2 separate regions of the Homo sapiens genome follow, and region 2 is linked to region 1. Evidence: promoter capture Hi-C in 16 types of primary human blood cells and fetal thymus (Javierre and others, 2016). All regions are on one chromosome and are shown on one strand. Each heading gives the region's core, a stretch centred on a gene start or on the middle of the fragment in contact. The rest is flanking DNA. Distances are from core to core; before and after follow the strand shown.

Region 1 (4,775 bases), core at 1,229-3,728:
AGACAGTCTCACCCTGTCGCCCAGGCTGGAGTGCAGTGGAGAAATCCCGGCTTACTGCAACCTCCGCCTCCCAGGTTCAAGCAATTCTCCTGCCTCAGCCTCCCAAGCAGCTGGGATTACAGCCATGTGACACCACGCCTGGCTAATTTTTGTATTTTTAGTAGAGACGGGGTTTCACTGTTGGCCATTGCTGGTCTCAAACTGCTGACCTTAGGTGATCTGCTTGTGTCAGCCTCCCAGAGTGCTGGGATTACAGGTGTGAGCCACCGTGCCCAGCCCCCTCCCTCTTCTTAAACAAGTGGGCCTGGCAATCACCACCCCTGGGTGACTTGGTGCAGTCCCCTGATCTCCCGAGACTCCCTGAGCTCATCTGTAAACGGAGCAGGGAGGTGCCTGCAGGATAGGACTCACAAGCACTGAGTGGATGCAGGGAGGGGGGCCCCTCGGGGCTGCACCCCAAGCCAACTTCATCCTGCACTAATGTCCATCGGGGTTTTACCTCTGATGAAGGCTGGGGCCAGGAGCTGGGGGCTCCCCGGGGTCCCTCAGCAGCCCTCCACCCCCACAAGACCTTCAGTCTCCACTGTGTCCAAAGAGGGGGTGCCCTGGAGCCCTAGAGGCCCGGAGGGTGCTCGGGGCCGGGCCACGAGGGAGGCTGAGCCATGGAGCTCCATTTGCACCTTTACGGAAATGAAGTTTTCTAGGACTTTGACAAAAGGGCCCTGGAAAGGGTGCCAGCTGCCAGCCAACGACCACCGCAGCCCCTCCTGGGGTCCCAGGCAGGAGTACCCAACCACGGAGGTCACAGCTGGGAGCACCCCTGGTTGCCCAGGGTCTGAGCCTGAGGAGAGGCAGAGCCACTCAGGGCTGGGAATCGGGGAGAAGCGACCCCCCGCATTTAGCCACCCCACCCCCACCTCCTGGGAAACTGACCCTAGAGTGCTCAAGGTCGCCACTGTGGCCGCCTGCCTTGGAGGAGTTCATGGGAAGCAGCCATGGGGAACCCTCCCGCCCCCACCACCCTGCCCTGGCTCCCTGGCCTGCTAACATGGGCTGGGGCTGCTGGGGTCCCAGACAAGGGGGGGCAGCGTTTCTGAGCCTCCAGATGACAGTCCCAACCCCGCAGCCCCAGCCGGGCTGGTGGGGAATTCTATACCCCCGACCCCCGGCCCCTGCTGAAAATGTGGAAAATGTGGACGAGTGAGTGAGCAGAGAACATGGGCAAGGCCCGTCCTCGTGGCTCAGATAAGCTCAGGAGGAGGCGCTGGGTCCTTGCCGCACAGAAGCCCCTCCCCAGCCCAGCACGACCTTCTCCCTCCCTGGCCCGGCCGCCCATCCTGCAGGGCTCCTCGTGAAGCTCCCCTTCCCTGGAGGAGGGGATCCGGCTCCTCCTGTGGCTCCTGGTCTCTGTGACAACAAGATGCCAGGGAAGGCCCAAGGTCCTGCCCTTCAGGCGAGTGGGAGCCAAGGGGCCCGACCTCCTGAACTGAGGGTGGGGGGTTAAGAAATTGCAGAGACCCCCAGCAACCAGGGCCTCCGTCCCTCAGGGACAAGGTGGCTGGCTGTGCCTGCCCACCCTGGTCAAGTGGAAGGGCACCTGGACAGGCGTGGCCTCCTGAGCCGCCCTCTGGGGTCCGCGCCTCCGGCCACCCCCCTGGCAGAGCCCAGCTGGGTCGGGTACTCACCAGCCTCCGCATGTCAGCCGCAGGGGGCTGGACCCAGCTGCGCAGGCGGTTGTGCAGGGAGAGGAGCAAGAAACTCTCCTTCCTGTTCAGGGCTGGGGTGGGGAGAGAAGGTCAGGCAGCCCGAGGATGGGGGGACCTGAACCCAACACACGGCAGAATAAGCATGTGTCCCTGCCCTTGGAAAACAAGATGGGAGAGGAGTGTGGTGGGTGCAGGGGACGTGGGGCATAGCAATGGAGCGAGGCTGAGAGAGAGACCAGGTACAGCAGGCGTGGGCTGAGTGCTGGGGTTGGGGTGGCGGGAGGGAACAGCGGTGCGGGCTGGGTGTAGGGGCCAGCCCTGGCTCCCGCAGGCCCCTGTCTGGGGCTCCTCCGGGCCACGGATTTCTCCAGGCCCCAGCCACAGCGCCCCTCGGCGTTCCTCCTTGACCCCAGCCCTGGTCCTCCTTCCTCCTCCTTCCTCCCCAGTCCAGCATCCACCCCTCACCGCCCCCGGGCTGTCCCAGGGCTTCCTCATTAAACCACCCGCACGGCCTGGGGCTCAGGCCTGGGACCGGGCTTCCAGAAGTCTCCTAGCACCCACTCCTCAGAGCTCGTAATGGTGCCTCCACCTACCTCCTCACCAGGTGTCCCTTACCTCCGGCCATCGGAGCCTGCTCCTGCAGCTGGGGTGGCCACACCTCTGCCCAGGCGGTGCCAAGGAGGGCCAGGAGCACAGCCAGGAGATGCCCCCGGCCAGGGGAGGTCTCTGGATGCAGCATGGGTCTGTTGGGCCCGTCAGGCGCTCCGTGCACAGCCTGGCTCAGCCACCCGGCTTGTTTCTCAGGCTGGATGGAGCTATTCACAATCTCCAGGAGTCAGGCTGGGCTGGTGGACAAAAGAGGGAGGCTGGTGAGTGAGTAATCAGTGTGTCCAGACAGCCTCCTGTTGGCGCTGGCATGAAAAGAGACAACTCCGGGGGATGCCTGCCTGCTCCGGCCTCGGCCTGGCCAGCCCGCCCCCGACAGCAGGCAGAGTGGCGTGCACTGACCCGCGGCCCCTGCTAATCATTGTGGGATTATTAGCACCCTTGGGGAGCCCCCAGAGACCCCGCTGATTGGCCCGCGGACATTCCAGTGCTGCAGATTAGTGACCGATGGCCGTGTCCTGGCTGGGACAGTGTCCTCCGAGCCCACTGATGGCTTCCGCTCCCCAGCCCCGGGCCCTGGGAGGAGGACCTCGGCTATGGTCCTTCTGGTGAGCAGGAACTGGGCAAGACCCCAGGGGAGTTCTTTCCTTTCTTGGGAAGCTCGTCCCAACCCCCCAGCCATGAATTAAACATAGGCAAGAGGTAACCGCACACCAGAGGGGTGCAATCTGTGGGCTCAAAGGGGGGTGGGCTGAGGCCGCACCTGCACGAGGAAAAGGGTGCCTTAGGAAAGTCTGTCTGGGCAGGGTCGGGGGCTGGGCCCAGCCCCGGTGCCCACCACCCTCACCCACGTGACTACAGGCCAGGGGGGGAGTGAGGCAGGAGGAGTCAAAGCAGGCGGGGACCAGAGCACGTGATGCCCTGGGCTGACTCCAGTCCTGCTGGGATCACGTCCGCCTCTAGAAAAACAGGCGGCGTAGCAGGTGGGCAGCACGTTGCCATGATGTGCCGTGGCCCGGCCGTGGCTGGCGTGATCCCACCAGAGTGAGCTGGAGCAGATCTGCACCATGGGCCAAGTTTCTCAGAAAATACATGGCTTCCTGCGGGCTGCAACCTAATGCCCACGTTCCTCTCGGGGAAGACCAAAGGTTATTCAACCAGGGCAAAGGACAGCCTTGCAAACCAACTACGTCCTCCTTCTGGAGTTTGTGTGACCCCTGGCCCCTGAGCCCACACCCTCTCGGAGCGGGGTTCCAACTCTGTGGAAGCTCTGCTGAGATGCAGGTAGGGTTGGCTTTCCTGGGGAAACACCAGTGGAATGTGGCTATCGTCATGGATGCCAGGGATGGGGATGAGGCCAGGCATACAGGCCATGAAGGCGGTCTGGAACTGCATGTCCCCCACAATACCTAGGGGCTCAGGAGTTTCTTCTCCCTCAAACAGAAACCCAGCACCCTCAGGGTCACTGCGTGTGGGTCCTAGCAATGCTTAATAGCTACCTGTTTTTTGATGTATTTTTATTTTTATTTTTTAGACAGTTTCACTCTGCCACTCAGGTTGGAGTGTTATAATCTCAGCTCACTGCAGCCTTGACCTCTTGGGCCCAAGTGATCCTCCCACCTCAGCCTCCCAAGGAGCTGGGACCAGGTGTGTGCCACCATGCCTGGCTAATTATTATCATTTTTTTTGGTAGAGACAGGATTTCATCGTCTTGCCCAGGCTGGTCTCCAACTCCTGGGCTCAAGGGATCTTCCCACCTTGGCCTCCCAAAGTGCTGGGGTTGCAGGCATGAGCCACCACACCTGGCCAAGCCACCTGTGTTTATGGAGCTCACAAAGCCTGTTTGCATGTGTGAGTTCAAGTTATTGCCACAAGAACCTGGTGCAGTAGCAGATGGGATGCCCGTCGTGTAGATGAGGAAACGGGCTTAGTGTGTCTAAGGGGCTTGTCCAAGGTCACTCAGCGAGTGCATGGAGCATCCCAGCTAATCCAAGGTCTCTGCCTTCCCATTCCCAACGCTTTAATTCACATCCTGATCTTTCCCAGTGCAGTTTCCACAGCTCTGCTATGCCGGGTGATAAAAGACCCACTTCCTACAATTGGGCTTCCATGGCAAACACGGCCAGTTGACCCATATAGTATGATGCCAGGCACTTGGGACAGGCGGGAGAAAAAGATATTTTGGGGATTAGGGTGGAGCAACTTTTGAAGGGTCCCATGGCCCTGGCTCACTGCAAGAAGAGTCCCAGGCCGGGTGTGATGGCTCATGCCTGTAATCCCAGAACTTTGGGAGGCCAAGGCAGGCGGATCACTTGAGGTCAGGAGCTCGAGACCAGCCTGGCCAACATGGTGAAATCCTGTCTCTACTAAAAATACAAAAATTAGCTGGGCAGGGTGGTGGGTGCCTGTAGTCCCAGCTACTCGGTAGGCTGAGGCAGGAGAATTGCTTGAATCTGGGAGGCG
Region 2 (4,788 bases), core at 705-3,204, 37 kb after region 1:
ATTTATTTTTGTTACCAAAGATTTTTTTTTTTTTTTGACAGGGTCTCACTCTGTTAGTCCAGGCTAGAGTAGAGTAGCAGGATCATGGCTCACTGCAGCCTCACCTCCCAGGCTCAAGTGATCCTCCCACCTTAGCCTCCTGAATAGCTAGGACCACAGGAATGCACCATCACATTCAACTAATTTTTTAAAAAAATTTTTGTAGACATGGAAGCCTCCCCGTGTGGCTCAGGCTAGTCTCAAACTCCTGGGCTCAAGCAATCCTCTCGCCTCAGCCTCCCAAAGTGCTAGGATTACAGGTGTGAGCCCCTGCACCCGGCCCGAAGTCATATGTATATAGTTTTGAAACATAAACAGGACTGCAGGGAATATAATGAAAAACGATGGTCTCTTGCCCCATTGCTGACTCCTGTTCCCCGAAGGCAACCACTTTCAACTCTCAATTGCTTCTACTAGTATATGTGTACATCTGTGTCTCTAAATAACATGTCTATTTCATTGCTTTTTGTCTTTTCTTTAATACAGAGACAGGATCTCACTATGTTGCCCAAACTGGATTTGAACTGCTGGGCTCAAACTATCCTCCAGCCTCAGCCTCCTGAGTAGCTGAGTAGTCTCAGGTGTGCACCACCAAGCCTGGCTCATTATTTCTTGATTTTTGCCATATTTGCTATCGCTTATGGACTTTCCACTACCAAAGATGAGGGATGAGGATATAGGTATTGCATTCCATCCCTCAACTATCTCCTCCCCTCGTCCTCTCAATATGGAAACTCACCGTTAAATCAATATTCAGGGTTTGGATGACAATGTAGAATACTATAAGTACATTTCCTTACTTGTAACAACTTTTTTCTTTTTTCTGGAGGTGAGAACTTCCTTGTCGTCTTCTGTGTGGTTTTCAAGAACCTATCACTGATGCATCCCCAGATTCTCAGACGGGACAGGTGGCCTGGCAGTGGCCTTCCTCTCTCGGCCACATCTCTCCCTCATCTGACGGGGACAGTTGTGTGTCCATCTCACACCCGCTCTGTGTCCTTGACCTGACTTGCCTTCCCTTCTCCTCCTCCTGGGAGATTCCATGGCCTCGGGGTTAAGTTCCCTGTGTCTTGCATCCCATTCATTCTTCTTTCTTGGCTTCCTGGTGGGATTTGGTGCGATAAATCATGGAGTAGCTTCCAAGACAGGATGTATCAAGGTTAATTTTTTGAAGCCCAGAATGTCTGAAGATGCCTTGACTTCTACTCTCATATTCAAATGTTAAAATAACTCAAAGTTGATTTCTAGACAGGAAATCATTTTCTTTTTTGTTTCTTTGAGACAGGGTCTTGCTCTGTTGCCCAGGCTGGAGTGCAGTGGCATGATCATGGCTCACTGCAGCCTCGACCTCCCAGCTCAAGTGATCCTCCCACCTCAGCCTCCCAAGTAGCTAGGACTACAGGCACGCACCACCATGCGGGGCCAATTTTTTGTTTTTCTAAGAGATAGTGTCTCACTGTGTTGCCCAGGCTGGTCTTGAACTCCTGGACTCAAACGATCCTCCTGCCTTGGCCCCCCAAAGTGCTGGGATTAGACGTTTGAGCCACTGTGCCCGGCAGGAAATCATTTTCCATCGGAATTGTGAAGGTCCTGCTCTACAGCTGAGAAGAAGGATGGCACTCTTGGTTCCTGATCCTTTCTAGGTACTCTGTTTTTTCCCTCTGGAAGTTTCTGAGGCTGTCTCTTGGCACTCAGAAATTCAATCAGATGAGCCTTGGGGTGAGTCTTTTTTTATCCTCTGGGCTAGGCGTGTGGTGAGCTGTTTGAATCTGGATACTTGAGTTCTGGCAATTTTCTTTTCTAATGATTTCCTATTGCCTGTTTCTCTGTTCTTTCCTGCTATTCCGCAAGTTCTTGCTAAAGAACTATTCTTCAGATATTGAATGTCTTGGTCACATCTTCTCATCTTCTTATCTCCAAATTTATCACTTTCTTTTTTTTTTTTTTTTTTTTTTTTTTTTTGAGACAGAGTCTCGCTCTGTCGCCCAGGCTGGAGTGCAATGGTGTGATCTCAGTTCACTGCAACCTCTGCCTCCCAGGTTCAAGCGATTCTCCTTCCTCAGCCTCGCGAGTAGCTGGGATTATAGGCAAGCACCACCACGCCTGGCTAATTTTTTATATTTTTAGTAGAGACGGGGGTTTCACCATGTTGGCCAGGCTGGTCTCGAACTTCTGATCTCAGGTGATCCACCTGCCTCGCCCTCCCAAAGTGCTGGGATTACATGCGTGAGCCACCATGCTCAGCCCAAATTTACCTTTCAACCATTCTACTGAATTTTTCATTTCTGTTGTCATATATATTAATTTCTAAAAGCTCCTGTTTTCTGCCTGGTCCATTTCATGGCCTCCTGTTCTTGTTGCACAGATGCCATTATTTTCTCCCAAATCTTTGAGGATATCAATTATAATCTGGTTTTCCTTTCCAAAGCTGTTTTTCAGCTTCCTATATTGTTTTCACCAAGTCTCTTTTTTCTGTCTGCTCATCTTTGGCTGTTTGTTCACATTTATTTTTATTTATTATTATAATTTTTTGAGACAGGGTCTTGCTCTGTCACCCAGGCTGGAGCGCAGTGGCACAATCACGGCTCACTGCAGCCTCAACCTTCCAGGCCCAACTGATTCTCCCACCTCAGCCTCCCAAGTAGCTGGGAACACAGGCATACACCACCACACTCAGCTAATTTAAAAAAAACTTTTTTTTGGCTGGGCGTGGTGGCTCACGCCTGTAATCCCACCACTTTGGGAGGCCGAGGTGGGTGGCTCACCTGATGTCAGGAGTTCGAGACCAGCCTGGCCAACATGGTGAAACCCCATCTCTACTTTAAAAAAAAAATTACAAGAATTAGCTGGGCGTGGTGGCATGTGCCTGTAACCCCAACTACTTAGGAGGCTGAGGCAGGAGAATCGCTTGAACCTGGGAGGTGGAGGTTGCAGTGAGCCGAGATTGCGCCACTGCACTCCAGCCTGGGCAACGAGAGCAAAAATTCTGTCTCAAAAAAAAAAAAAAAAAAAAAAAAAAAAAAAAAAAAAAAAAAAAAATATATATATATATATATATATATATATATATATATATATTTTTTTTTTTTTTTTTTTTTTTTTTTTTTTTTGTTTTGTAGAGACTGGTTCTCCATATGTTGCCCAGGCTAGTCTCGAACTCCTGGACTCAAGCGATCCTCCCACCTTGGCCTCTGGAAGTTCTACTTCCAGATCCTCCTGCCTTGGCCTCTGGAAGTTCTACTATTACAGGTGTGAGCCACCGTGCCCAGCTGTGTTCATTCGCATTTAACAGTGAGCCACTAAAACACTGACTGAGTTCTGTATCCTCAGATGAGGGCTGCAGACTGTAGAGTGACCAGGAAGAGTCTCAGCTATTTCACTAGAAGGTTCCCAAATATCACAATCTATGTTTCTTTCTCTTAGACTATCACTTTCCCCAGCAAAAACAAACAAACAAACAAACAAAACTACCCTCCAATTTTCAGCCTGGGGAATGGAGATAGCATCCGCATTTAATCTCTTGTTTCTGAGTTCATCCTGGCCTTCAGCTATAGTTTGTGTCCCCCGACCTGGTCCTCCTACTCTCTCTGCAGCTTCTCAATGTCAGAGGCAGTCATGAGGCTGTGTGTGTGTGTGTGTGTGTGTGTGTGTGTGTGTGTGTGTGAATCTAACTCCCTGCACAAACTTCCAACTCATCTTCCAACTGATCTAAAACCAATGAGGTTTTGTTTTGTTTTTTTTTGAGATGGAGTCTCGCTCTGTCGTCCAGGCTAGAGTGGTGCAGTGGTGCAATCTCAGCTCACTGTAACCTCCGCCGCTGGGGTTCAAACAATTCTCCTGCCTCAGCCTCCCAAGCAGCTGGGACTACAGGTGTGTGCCACCATGCCTGGCTAATTTTTTGTATTTTTAGTACAGATGGGGTTTCACCGTGTTAGCCAGGATGGTCTCAATCTCCTGACTTCATGATCCACCTGCCTCGGCCTCCCAAAGTGCTGGGATTACAGGCGTGAGCAACCGAGCCCAGCCAAGGTTTTAATCTCATTCCACACCCATCCTTGGTGCCTCTAATCGCTGAGGCTTTCCAGAGCCCCATGGTGCACATCAGCCGGCTTCCTGGTGGATTCCTCATCCTGCAGGTGTGGGTTTCATTCTCTCGGCTCTGCCATTTATCTATCAGAAACTAAACTTTGATTAACATCTCCCATATGCTGTTTCTCCTCTTCCATCCCTTTATTGTTGAAGGTTTATGCCTTTTTAATACTTTTATTACTATTTTAGTGGGTTTTCAGGAAGAATAGAAATAAACACATGTTCAAGCCACATGTTTAACTAAAAGTACTCTGCTGTGGTGAATTTCCACTTCTAAGAAGCACGATTGCACTCTTTATTTCAGTTGAAATCTTGCACAGAACAGTGACTGGAGGCCCAGTCAGCCCTTCCACCCTCTTTGGCTCTGGTGGGCATCTCCCCCAAACCTGAGAGCCCCACCGGGCACACTTGGACTTCTTTACTTCATACAACCCTTCCACTCCAGCATAACCACCCCATGCATCCTTCCCCAAACACATCCTTTCCCTTCCCATATGCAGGCAGCCACCTCCACTGTCCCCCCAACCTGGATCATCTTCTTGCAAGAGTTGGAGCCACTTCCCTCTGTGAGGCCTCCTCAATCCTCTTGTTTCACAGTGATCACTCTTTGCTTACCTGTGGTCTGAACACTGCTTAAGAGTGACTGATGAGCAAATGGAT

Evidence for each region. The method cuts DNA at HindIII sites, captures the fragments that hold promoters and counts their contacts. A CHiCAGO score of 5 or more calls a contact.
Region 2: a contact is called between a fragment that was not itself captured here and the fragment with the promoter of CLEC18A in region 1, in 4 of 17 cell types (endothelial precursors, M2 macrophages, M0 macrophages and 1 more). The highest score is 7.0, in endothelial precursors.

What each region holds. Positions count from the first base shown.
Region 1 is chr16:69,949,037-69,953,811 of GRCh38, reverse strand. CLEC18A (C-type lectin domain family 18 member A) reads right to left here and starts at 2,478. Exons shown (of 12, transcript NM_001370523.4): 1 at 2,322-2,478; 2 at 1,686-1,777. The coding sequence starts at 2,445. RefSeq lists enhancers at 705-1,318, 2,545-3,157, 3,158-3,771. The HindIII fragment of the contact is 42,237 bases long and covers 1-4,775 here.
Region 2 is chr16:69,911,285-69,916,072 of GRCh38, reverse strand. All of the region lies in intron 9 of WWP2 (WW domain containing E3 ubiquitin protein ligase 2), which reads right to left. Among named protein-coding and RNA genes, the nearest start is that of MIR140, 19 kb to the left of the region's middle. The HindIII fragment of the contact is 6,162 bases long and covers 1-4,788 here.